Regions from separate parts of the Homo sapiens genome. Here region 1 is linked to region 2. Evidence: promoter capture Hi-C in human tissues and cell types (Jung and others, 2019). All regions are on one chromosome and are shown on one strand. The core of a region is centred on a gene start or on the middle of the fragment in contact, and the rest is flanking DNA. Distances in the headings are between cores, read along the strand shown.

Region 1 (4,762 bases), core at 1,670-4,169, 93 kb before region 2:
TCTACAAAGAGAGCAGACTTTTCTAGTACCTTTCAATTCTCACCATGTAGGTAACCATATTCTCTAGCAACTGGGATATATGTCTTTCTCAAAAGTTCCAGTTATCTAACACCTTCACAGGTGTCACAGCTCTCCAGAAAATAAAATCAACTCTGTGTGTGTGTGTGTGTGTGTGTGTGTGTGTGTGTGTGTGTGTGTAGAAAGAGATTTGAGAAAGAGAGAGAGGGACATTATAAGGAATTGGTTCACAGGATTGTGGTGGCTGGATAAACCAAAATCTACAAGGCAGGTTTGCAACCTGGAGCCCCAGGAAAGATTTGCAGTTTAAGTCTAAAGGCAGTCTGCTGGCAGAATTCATTCTTGCTCAGGGGAGGTTAGTCTTTGTTCTATTAAGGCTCTCAACTGATTGGATGAGGCCTACCTACATTTTGGAGGGTAATCTGCTTTAGTCTACCAATTTAAATATTAATCTCATCCAAAAAAACAAACAAACAAACAAACAAACAAAAACACCTTCACAGAATCATCCAGAATAATGTTTCACCAACTATTTGGGCACAGTGGCCCAGCGAAATTGACACATAAAATTAACCATCATAGTAGGTAACCATATTCTGCAGCTACTGGTGAGATCTGTCTTTTCTGAGCACCTCAGTCAGCCATCTGACATCTTCAAAGTAGCCTGTCTCACTCTAGCGAATTGGGAAAATAGAATAGATGAAGAGGAGGATGGCAGAGATCTCTCTCATTGAATGCATTCCCCATTCATTTCTGACCAGCCACCTTCTGTTCACCATCTTAATCAAGAGAAAAAGGAATATCCCTGGAAAAATAAGTTTTTCCCTCACTTATAAATGGGAAAACAGCATTAGCAATGATAAAAAGAATACTTAATATTTTATTTCACTTTTAAAGTCTCATTGCTTGTATCAAAAACATAATTTAAGCAAATAGTAATCTTTTTTAAAAGGAGAAAACAGACTCAGATTTTAAGTGATTTTTTTTTTCAAATGATGACTTAATGAGTATTTGTTGAAGGACCCAAGTCATTCGACCTCCAGCCGGTCTTCATTAACTACCCAATTCTGCCACAAGGTGGCATAAGGCGACACGCCTCTTTACCCAGTTCCCTTTCTAAAGCTTTGGTTGCACAGTACTGCGCATCAGTCATGTCCTGTCTTCACCCTAACTCTTAGAAACTTGGACAACTACTGAGGGTAGGCTTAATGCTCTCAAAATGGACAAAATTAAGATATTTTGGATTTTTGTTTATTGTTTTTTTCTACACTGCTTTACAAATGTTTTGTTCTAAGATTGTTATATCTCCAGGCATTCCAATATTCCATGAAATCTGGATTGGATTGTATGCCAGACATAATTCAGGAACTCCCTTATTTTAAACAAGTTGTATTTTACTTAGCATGGTATCACTCGTTAAACAGAAACATTTAGATACCATAGCCCTTGCTCTAGACTTGCTGAATCAGAATTTCCGGGGGAAAGCTCTCTGAAAATGCAAGTTCTTACTTTTGTAATTATGCTTCCTATCTGGGCACATTTAAGGAACACTGCTCTAGGTAATGATGTCCAGGTCCACCTGGGAGTGTCCTACAAAAACGAGCCCCCTCCTCTTGTCCTCACCTTTCCCTTCTCCTACCATTCACCCTCGCCACACCTTTCTCCTTCATTTCCATACCCCTGCCTCCTTCTCCCCAGATCACCTGGCCCACTATACTACATCATACTCAGCCCTCTTACTTTGTAATTTCTGGGGACCAGGGAGGTGGCTTACTCAGGGGAGCTAGAGCCAGGTCTGCCTTTTTTAAAGAGTGAGGACAAGGTGTCCTAACAGTCTATGGAAACGTGAGAGCTAATTGGTAGTCACAAATTGTCAGAGGAGCCCCATTTAGTTTAATGCTCTCTTAAAAAGCTGAGAGAAGGCCGGGCGCGGTGGCTTATGCCTGTAATCCCAGCACTTTGGGAGGCCAAGGCGGGCGGATCACCTGATGTCAGGAGTTCAAGACCAGCCTGGCCAACATGGTGAAACCCTGTCCCTACTAAAAATACAAAATTAGCTGGGCATGGTGGTGGTCGCCTGTAATTCCAGCTACTCGGGAGGCTGAGGCAGGAGAATCACTTGAACCCAGGAGGCAAAGGTTGCAGTGAGCCGAGATCACACCATTGCACTCCAGCCTGGGCAAAAAGAGTGAAACTCCATTTCAAGAAAAAAAAAAAAAAAAGCCGAGAGACACCATGCAGCTATAAAAAAAGAATGACATCATGTCATTTGCAGGGACATGGATGCAGCTGAAGGCCATTATCCTTAGCAAACTAACACAGGAACAGACAACCGCACGTACTCACTTATAAGTAGGAGCTAAGTGATGAGAACACATGGACACAGAGAGAGAGAGAGAGGAGCAACACAAACCAGGGCCTAGTGAAGGGTGGGAGGAGGGAGAGGATCAGGAAAAACAACTAACGAGAACTAGGCTTAATATCTGGATGATCAAATAATCTGTACAACAAACCCCCATGACAAAATTACCTATGTAACAAACTGCACATGTGCCTCTGAACTTAAAAAAAAAAAAAAAAACTAAGAAGTGTCTATGTTACAATCATACAATTGGTCTTTTATGTCCCTATGCCCAGCCATGTGACAGTCTATGTTTGGGTTTCTAACATTTTTATCATTTGTATTTCTATGATGCTTTTGTGTTTGGAAAGCAGAAGCCAGGTTGTCTTTGTGAATTTTCACTGGGTAGGTCTACTCTTCCATATTACTGTTACTGTGCAACTAGAAACCCACCTGGCCTTGGAGGAGAAAGAACAGCATCACTGAAATGCTTGCATCAGGCGTTGGGGATGGGGGTACAGCATGTAATTACAAAGGTAAGATTTGGAATTTCCATTTCCAGAAGCATGGCATGACCATCATTCAGAAAGCAAGCTGAGGACTAAAACTGGATTTCAGCTGAGGGCATTTGTCAAACTAGGTAAAGGAGAATTTAGGTTTTCATGGCCTTGGTAGGCAAGCAGAACAGGAGACAAAGCCCAGGGACTATTATGATTGGGTGCATATTAGAGACCCCTCCCCATACAAGCAAGGTGGAAACAACTACTTCCAACTGAAAGAAAATTGCCTGTCTCAAACTTTGGTATAAATATTTTTGCTGACTGGTACAGAATTCTAGAAGGCACTTAAAAAGAATTTCCAGAAATGTGGAAAAATAAAAGAAGGGCACAAAGAGGCCATGGGCAGTGCCTATGATCTCATTTTTACTTTTAAAACTTAAAAAATGCAATAAATCTTTTCCTGACCCTGGGTAATTGTGCTTATTTAGTACAAATCTGAGTACAGATTTTGGGGCAACAGTACCTAATTAGGCACACCCAGGCACACCCTAACTTACCCTTGGAGCTTACAGGAATTCCAAGAAAATCCACATGGGTAGAGATTGAGCGTCTTTCCCAATGGGCAGTCAAGATGATGAGATGGATCACTAAATTCTAAAGAATCCATGTCATGCTGTATACACACAGCAAGGAGGGCCTTAATATTAGCAAAACAACATCAAGTGTCTCACATTAAATAAATGTTGTTAACTTTAAGCTTATTTGGCTCTGTAGCCTTGTTTATATTTAATTTGTAAGTATATTTTTGTTTGTAAGCTGTATAAGCATAAGGCATGCATACCAAGTTTATATTTATACATTTTAACATTACAATTAAAATATTTTAAGTAAACATTAAGTGGCCCATGAGAAAATTGTTTTCCTTTGAAAGAGGGGTCCATATATTACTTAAGTTTGTAAAACATTTATTACTTAATTGTGTAGCTACTGTCTTGTGTGGCCATAATTATGTCTAGTCTTTTCATTTTCTTTTAAATTATTCTAGGATCAATAAGGGAGAATTGATATAAATATAACTGATATAGTATATCAGTTTAAACATGTATTGACTCCAACAACGACATGTATTAAGATATGAATTTCTGGTGCCCAAAGGCATATGGCCAAATTCAGTTAAAAGGAGGTCTTACAGCAGTAGTATACGGCCAGGAATCCACAAATGTTCGGAATCTTGCCTCATCAGCACCCCTTTCCTGACTCAGAAGAAAGAAAAAGGCTGATTACATTGATGACTAATGCAGTTACCTAGAGAGTTATGAATTCTCAAGAGACTGCCTCCAGAATCTCAGCGCTTATAAAGCCCTTCCAGGTGGGGCTGCCATCCTCGTCAACCCTGTGATACTTGTAGCACTCAGCCGACTCTCTCTTCTCACTGTCACAACTTCAGGAAACACTGATCTTAAATATGCACATGCTGATATATAGTGAATTCAAGCTTCATCTTTATTGCAGGATGATGGTAGTATCTCCTCCCAAAGGCATTTATAAAACAGGAGACACATGAGTTAATTTGGAAGAGGTGGAAGGAAGTTCAGGATTTCCTGATATCCCTTCCCTGTTCTTCCTCCCAAGCATAGTTCTGGTTGGTACCATTTACTTTGGAAAAATGGAATAAGTCATTATGCTTCACTTATTGAACTAAACCTTGAAATTACAATTTATGAACCACCCTAGAAGCTGGATTCATTTGCATCATGTACTTGAATAAGGTTTTGAAAGTAACTGGGGCCAGGCGCAGTGGCTCATGCCTGTAATTCCAGGAGTTGGGAAGGTCAAGGTGGGTGGATCACCTGACGTCAGGAGTTCAAGAGCAGCCTGGCCAACATGGTGAAACCCCATCTCT
Region 2 (4,888 bases), core at 1,651-4,150:
CCAGAAGAAATATCTAGAGTTGGGCAGGGAGTAGAGAATAAGCGAGGCTGTTGTTAGAAGTATTGACTGTAACGATCATGAATAGTATTGTTGTTACATTGCCTATTTTAAGATCCTACAATCAAAGGCCTCTAAACCAGTTATGCATTCAGATCTAGCTATTTAATGAAAACCTATTCTGTACAAAGTGCCACTCATATATTATTTCATTCATGCTTCATAATACATTTCTGATAGAGGCATTCCTAGTTCATTTTACAGATGGGGAAACTGTGGACTAAGGTTGAAGAACTTCCCAGTGTTTCACAGCCTCCAAGTCCAATGCTGTTTCCACATATAATACTCAATTTTGAACATTGTATTGTGTTAGGAGACTTAACAAAAATAAAAATAAAAACAAAAACCCTGCAAGCAGTGTATGTTGGTCAAGAGTTGCTGTTTCTCTAAGGTCCAGTAAGCCCTTAGCTTTGTTTTCCTGAACTTTGAGTTTCAGTTGCACATCAAGCCCCAGAGGTGGGCAAATGCTGATGCTACAAGAACAGCAGCAAGTGGCAGCACTCAGGGCAGGAGTACTCATGCTGTTCTGACATTCCTAGCCAGGCTGTTGTTCACATGGAGCCATGCCCAGCTCACCAAGGACACCTACGTCTGCTGACGCAAGTCATTCCTCCCTGATTAATGAAAGTTTAATGTCCAAGGTTATAAACTGCTGAGAAGGCAATAGGGAAAGAGCTAATTTATGAGTCTGCAGTTACCAAAATGTAAGCAGCTCTGCTTTAGATCACTGTCTTGGAATGAGACAAACTCTCCAGCTACCTGTACTGTGACTCTAGACAAGTTACTTGCCCTCTCTGAACCAGAGTTTTGTTATGCATAAAATGGGGGTAATAAGCGTTTCTTCAGAGAGTCGCTGATATTGGAGATAATTTATGAAAAGAACCAGGTACATCATAGACTCTCAAAAAAAGGATAGCTATTATTGTTGTATAACAAGAATAATTAGTACTAGTAGCATCTCTCAGCAGGTAGAATGTTTTAGCTATGGTTCTGACTACCCCAGCCCTGACTCCTAACAACTTTCATTACACCCACTCTCTATTCTTTCATCACCATCCACCTCTTGTTCCTCCATTCTCCTTTACCAAAAATCATAGAGGATGAAACCTCACATAGCCCCAAAGCTGGTCACATTGGTCTGACAAATATGGTAGCAGGTGCTTCAATGAGCCCAGTTGAAGATGGGGAAACCAGGAAATGTGCCATCAGATACTAAGTGGAGTCAAGGGAGCTGATAGGACCTTTCCCTGGTCTATCCCTCTACTATCCTCAGGACAGGGCTTGGTGGGAACTTCCCTAGCCAAATGAGCCTCAATATTGTGTTTCAAATACTTCAATTTCCTTCAATATTCACATTCAGTGATGAATACTTACTGTTCTCAGAAGCCTTTGTTTTCAGGAAAAACTTGATGGTGGCTGAAAACATGATGGCTCTGCTTGGAGGGAAATGCTTGTTTTCCTCTCTCTAAGTATAAATGCTCATTCACACCTTTCCTGGCTTTTTGAGAGGTGGCAAAATGCCCAAGATTGATTGCCAGTTACTTGTGTTACCTGAATGAGGCCCTTGTGAGTCTCTGATCTAGGAAAAACAACCAAAACTAAACCAAAACTCTTTTTAGATCACCTAGTTCCGTTTATTTTTTCCTTCATTTTGTTGACATTTCACCTTTTCATCCATAAATTCTGGTGTTACACTCTGCACAATCAAGCATCTTAGTTTTGTTTTCCATTTTATGAATTATTCCAGAGGAACATGTTCATGAGAATTTACCCTTTTTTGTAATTACGGTCATTCCATCACTTTTAGATTTCCCTCATTTATTTGCCTCATTCATCATTTGCCTCTGGAAGCATATAATATTTTTATTTACCTTTTCTGGAATTAAATTTGGGTTTCATACTTAGGAAAAAGCCCTGCAGAATGAACCCATACCCAGACAGTACCATATTTAGGGGTGTTGATGGCTTAGTTCAATCACTTTAATTCTAGTTTTTAACCAAATTTGAAGACAAAAGTACAAAGGTTAAAAGAGAATGGGAATACAAAACAATGATTTCTGGCATTAAATACATCAGAAAGCCCAGCTAGGTTTTGGAGGACTGGAGAAGATGGGAGAGACAATGATTTTTAAAAACAGAATGTTTTGAATTTTATTTCCAATTTGGACAAAATTCACACATGGGAAATTCAAGGATTCAGAATCAATTTCTTTTATTGAAAGATTATTTAAATTTAACTATAAATTATAGAATAAATTGTTGGAATTGACTACTAATGATATACTGAAGATAAATAATGAAAATATAGCATTGATTACCTAATTTGGAAATAATAATTCTTGAATGCCTACTGCGTACAGACACTATACAACTCACTTAATGCTCCTGTGAAATTGAGATCCCACTTTACAGAGAAGAAAATAACGGCTCAGACAAGTAAAAAACAAAACCAAAAACCCGTCACCAAGTTCATGTGTTTTGTAAGTGTTACAGCTACACTAACATTCTTCCTAGTATCATTTAATGGACCCTAGAGCTCCATCATTGACTAGCTGTATGACTTAAGGGAACCTCCTTATCTTCCTTGCCTTAGTTTCCTCATCTGTGAAATGGAGGGTCTGGATTAGGAACTCCACGGTCTAAAGACATTCCTTGCAGCTTTAACATTCTATGAGCATAAGGAGTATATGGGCATGATTTTAAGGACTGGTTGTTTATGAGCCAATCAGAGGTGTTGAATAAACACCTCCCTACTAGGTCAAGGTAGAAAGGGGAGGGCAAATATTGGAAAAAAAAAACATGATGAGAAGTCTATAAAAATTGTGTGCTACCAAAGATCTGTCTTATTTGGCAGCTGCTGCCTCACCCACAGCTTTTGATATCTAGGAGGACTCTTCTCTCCCAAACTGTAAGTAAAAAAGCTTCCTTTGTATACCTGGACAGCACCAGTGAATAAGGGGTTAATAATACTACTAAGCTTATAGAAGGGAAGATTGGTTTGCCTTTGTTTTCGGGAAAAACTTGATGGTGGCTGAAAACATGATGGCTCTGCTTGGAGGGAAATGCTTGTTTTCCTCTCTCTAAGTATAAATGCTCATTCACACCTTTCCTGACTTTTTGAGAGGTGGCAAAATGCCCAAGATTGATTGCCAGTTACTTGTGTTACCTGAATGAGGCCCTTGTGAGTCTCTGATCTAGGAAAAACAACTTGAACACTCCTATCGTTAGGTTCTAATCAGTTTTTGAGATTCCTGTTCATTTCAACTCTCAACTCTCTTTTCATAACAACTACTTATTTTAGTGATTTATTTACATATCTACTGCCTTATGTCATTTTCTACATTCTCTTCCCACACCTACTGGTACCGACACTGAAGTTTCTTTGTCACAGAAACAAACCCTTGGAGTATTTTGCCCTTCGCCTTCACCCACTGCTCAAATGAGGAAATGCAACAGGGTTGGAAACTTCACAGAGCATAGTCATCATTTGATTATGAATTTCCAAACCCTTCATGTTTGACACTTTCTAGAACATTTCCTGCTGGCCCCAGACACTGTGAAGACCCTACAGCTTAAGATAGTAGGAATCAAAAGGTTGTGTATTTTGATACATTTGCTCTACTATCTGAAAAATAGGCATTGTGAGAATATGTTGCCTTTTTAAAAAATAACTTCTCTTTAAATAGTTACCTAGGGCTCCATTAGACAATTTGGATGCACCAGAGCTTGAACTCTGCTACCCTGCTATTCATCACTTTAGCTAAGGCACATCTGGGTAGCACCCAGGCCCAGGTTAGAGCCAGAGATACTGGGGCAGGGAATGGGGAAATGTTGAATATCTAAGAGGTCCTTTGGCTTCATTCCAAGTTTAGAGGAAAGAGCACCATTCAGGACTCGTTCTGGGCTGCTCCGCGTGTGTTAAAGGGCACTGGAAATCAGGCTGTCCTAGGACTGCCCTAGATCATCCCACTGCACTTGTCACTGGGACATTGGGGTGGATAATGAAGCTATTGGCAGCTTTAAGCATCATGTACAAAAGTGCTGCATGCAGTGCCTAGAAATCATGGGCTATCAATAAATAAGCCTCCTCATATTTGCCTTAAAAATCCATTTGTCTTGTACATAGAGAAGCAAATGAACTTTCTGCTGCCTTCTATTTCTCCAGGAATTAAATATCCATGTTACAAATAATTATGTTTTCACAGAACATCTTCAAGGAAGGCAGAAAGAACCATACCATAGGATTCTACCTGCTATTTTGCTGAAGGATTAGAAATAGAATTCTAAGTCATAAGCCAATAGGATGTAACTTGCAATCCTAGAACATCACAACTTAGAAGGCACATCAGACATAGTCTCTCTGGCTTTAGTTTCCTCATCTCTAAAGTGACAGGGTTGACGCAGGTATCTCTGAGGTCATTTGTAGCTCTGTTTTTCTGTGGTTACCTTCTGTTGTTAATACAACTTTCCTCCAGATTTATATACATATTACTTGTTACACATATGTAATAAAGTGCGTGATAAAGAATGTATAAAATGAAATGTGGCCGGGTGCAGTGGCTCATGCCTGTAATCCCAGCACTTTGCGAGGCCAAGGTGGGAGGATCGCGTGAACTCAGGAGTTCAAGACAAGCCTGGGCAACATAGCAAGACTTTGTTTATACCAAAAATAAAAAAAAAAATAGCTGGGCATGGTGGCAGGCGCCTGTAGTTTCAGCTGCTTGGTGTCTGAGGTGGGAAGATCACTTGAGCCCAGGAGGACGAGGCTTCAGTGAGTCATGATTGTGCCAGTGCACTCCAGGCTAGGCAACAGAGCAAGACTCTGTCTCAG

What was found. Contacts are between HindIII fragments. The study calls those that stand out against the background at their distance.
Region 1: a fragment that was not itself captured here is called in contact with the fragment with the promoter of ALDOB in region 2 in 2 of the 25 tissues and cell types used here (H1 embryonic stem cells and adrenal gland).

The regions. Positions count from the first base shown.
Region 1 is chr9:101,526,632-101,531,393 of GRCh38, reverse strand. It overlaps a transcript of PGAP4 not described here. Among named protein-coding and RNA genes, the nearest start is that of RNF20, 4.8 kb to the left of the region's middle. The HindIII fragment of the contact is 6,605 bases long and covers 1-4,762 here.
Region 2 is chr9:101,433,786-101,438,673 of GRCh38, reverse strand. It overlaps ALDOB (aldolase, fructose-bisphosphate B), which reads left to right and starts at 2,900. Exons shown (of 9, transcript NM_000035.4): 1 at 2,900-2,965. The HindIII fragment of the contact is 17,042 bases long and covers 1-4,888 here.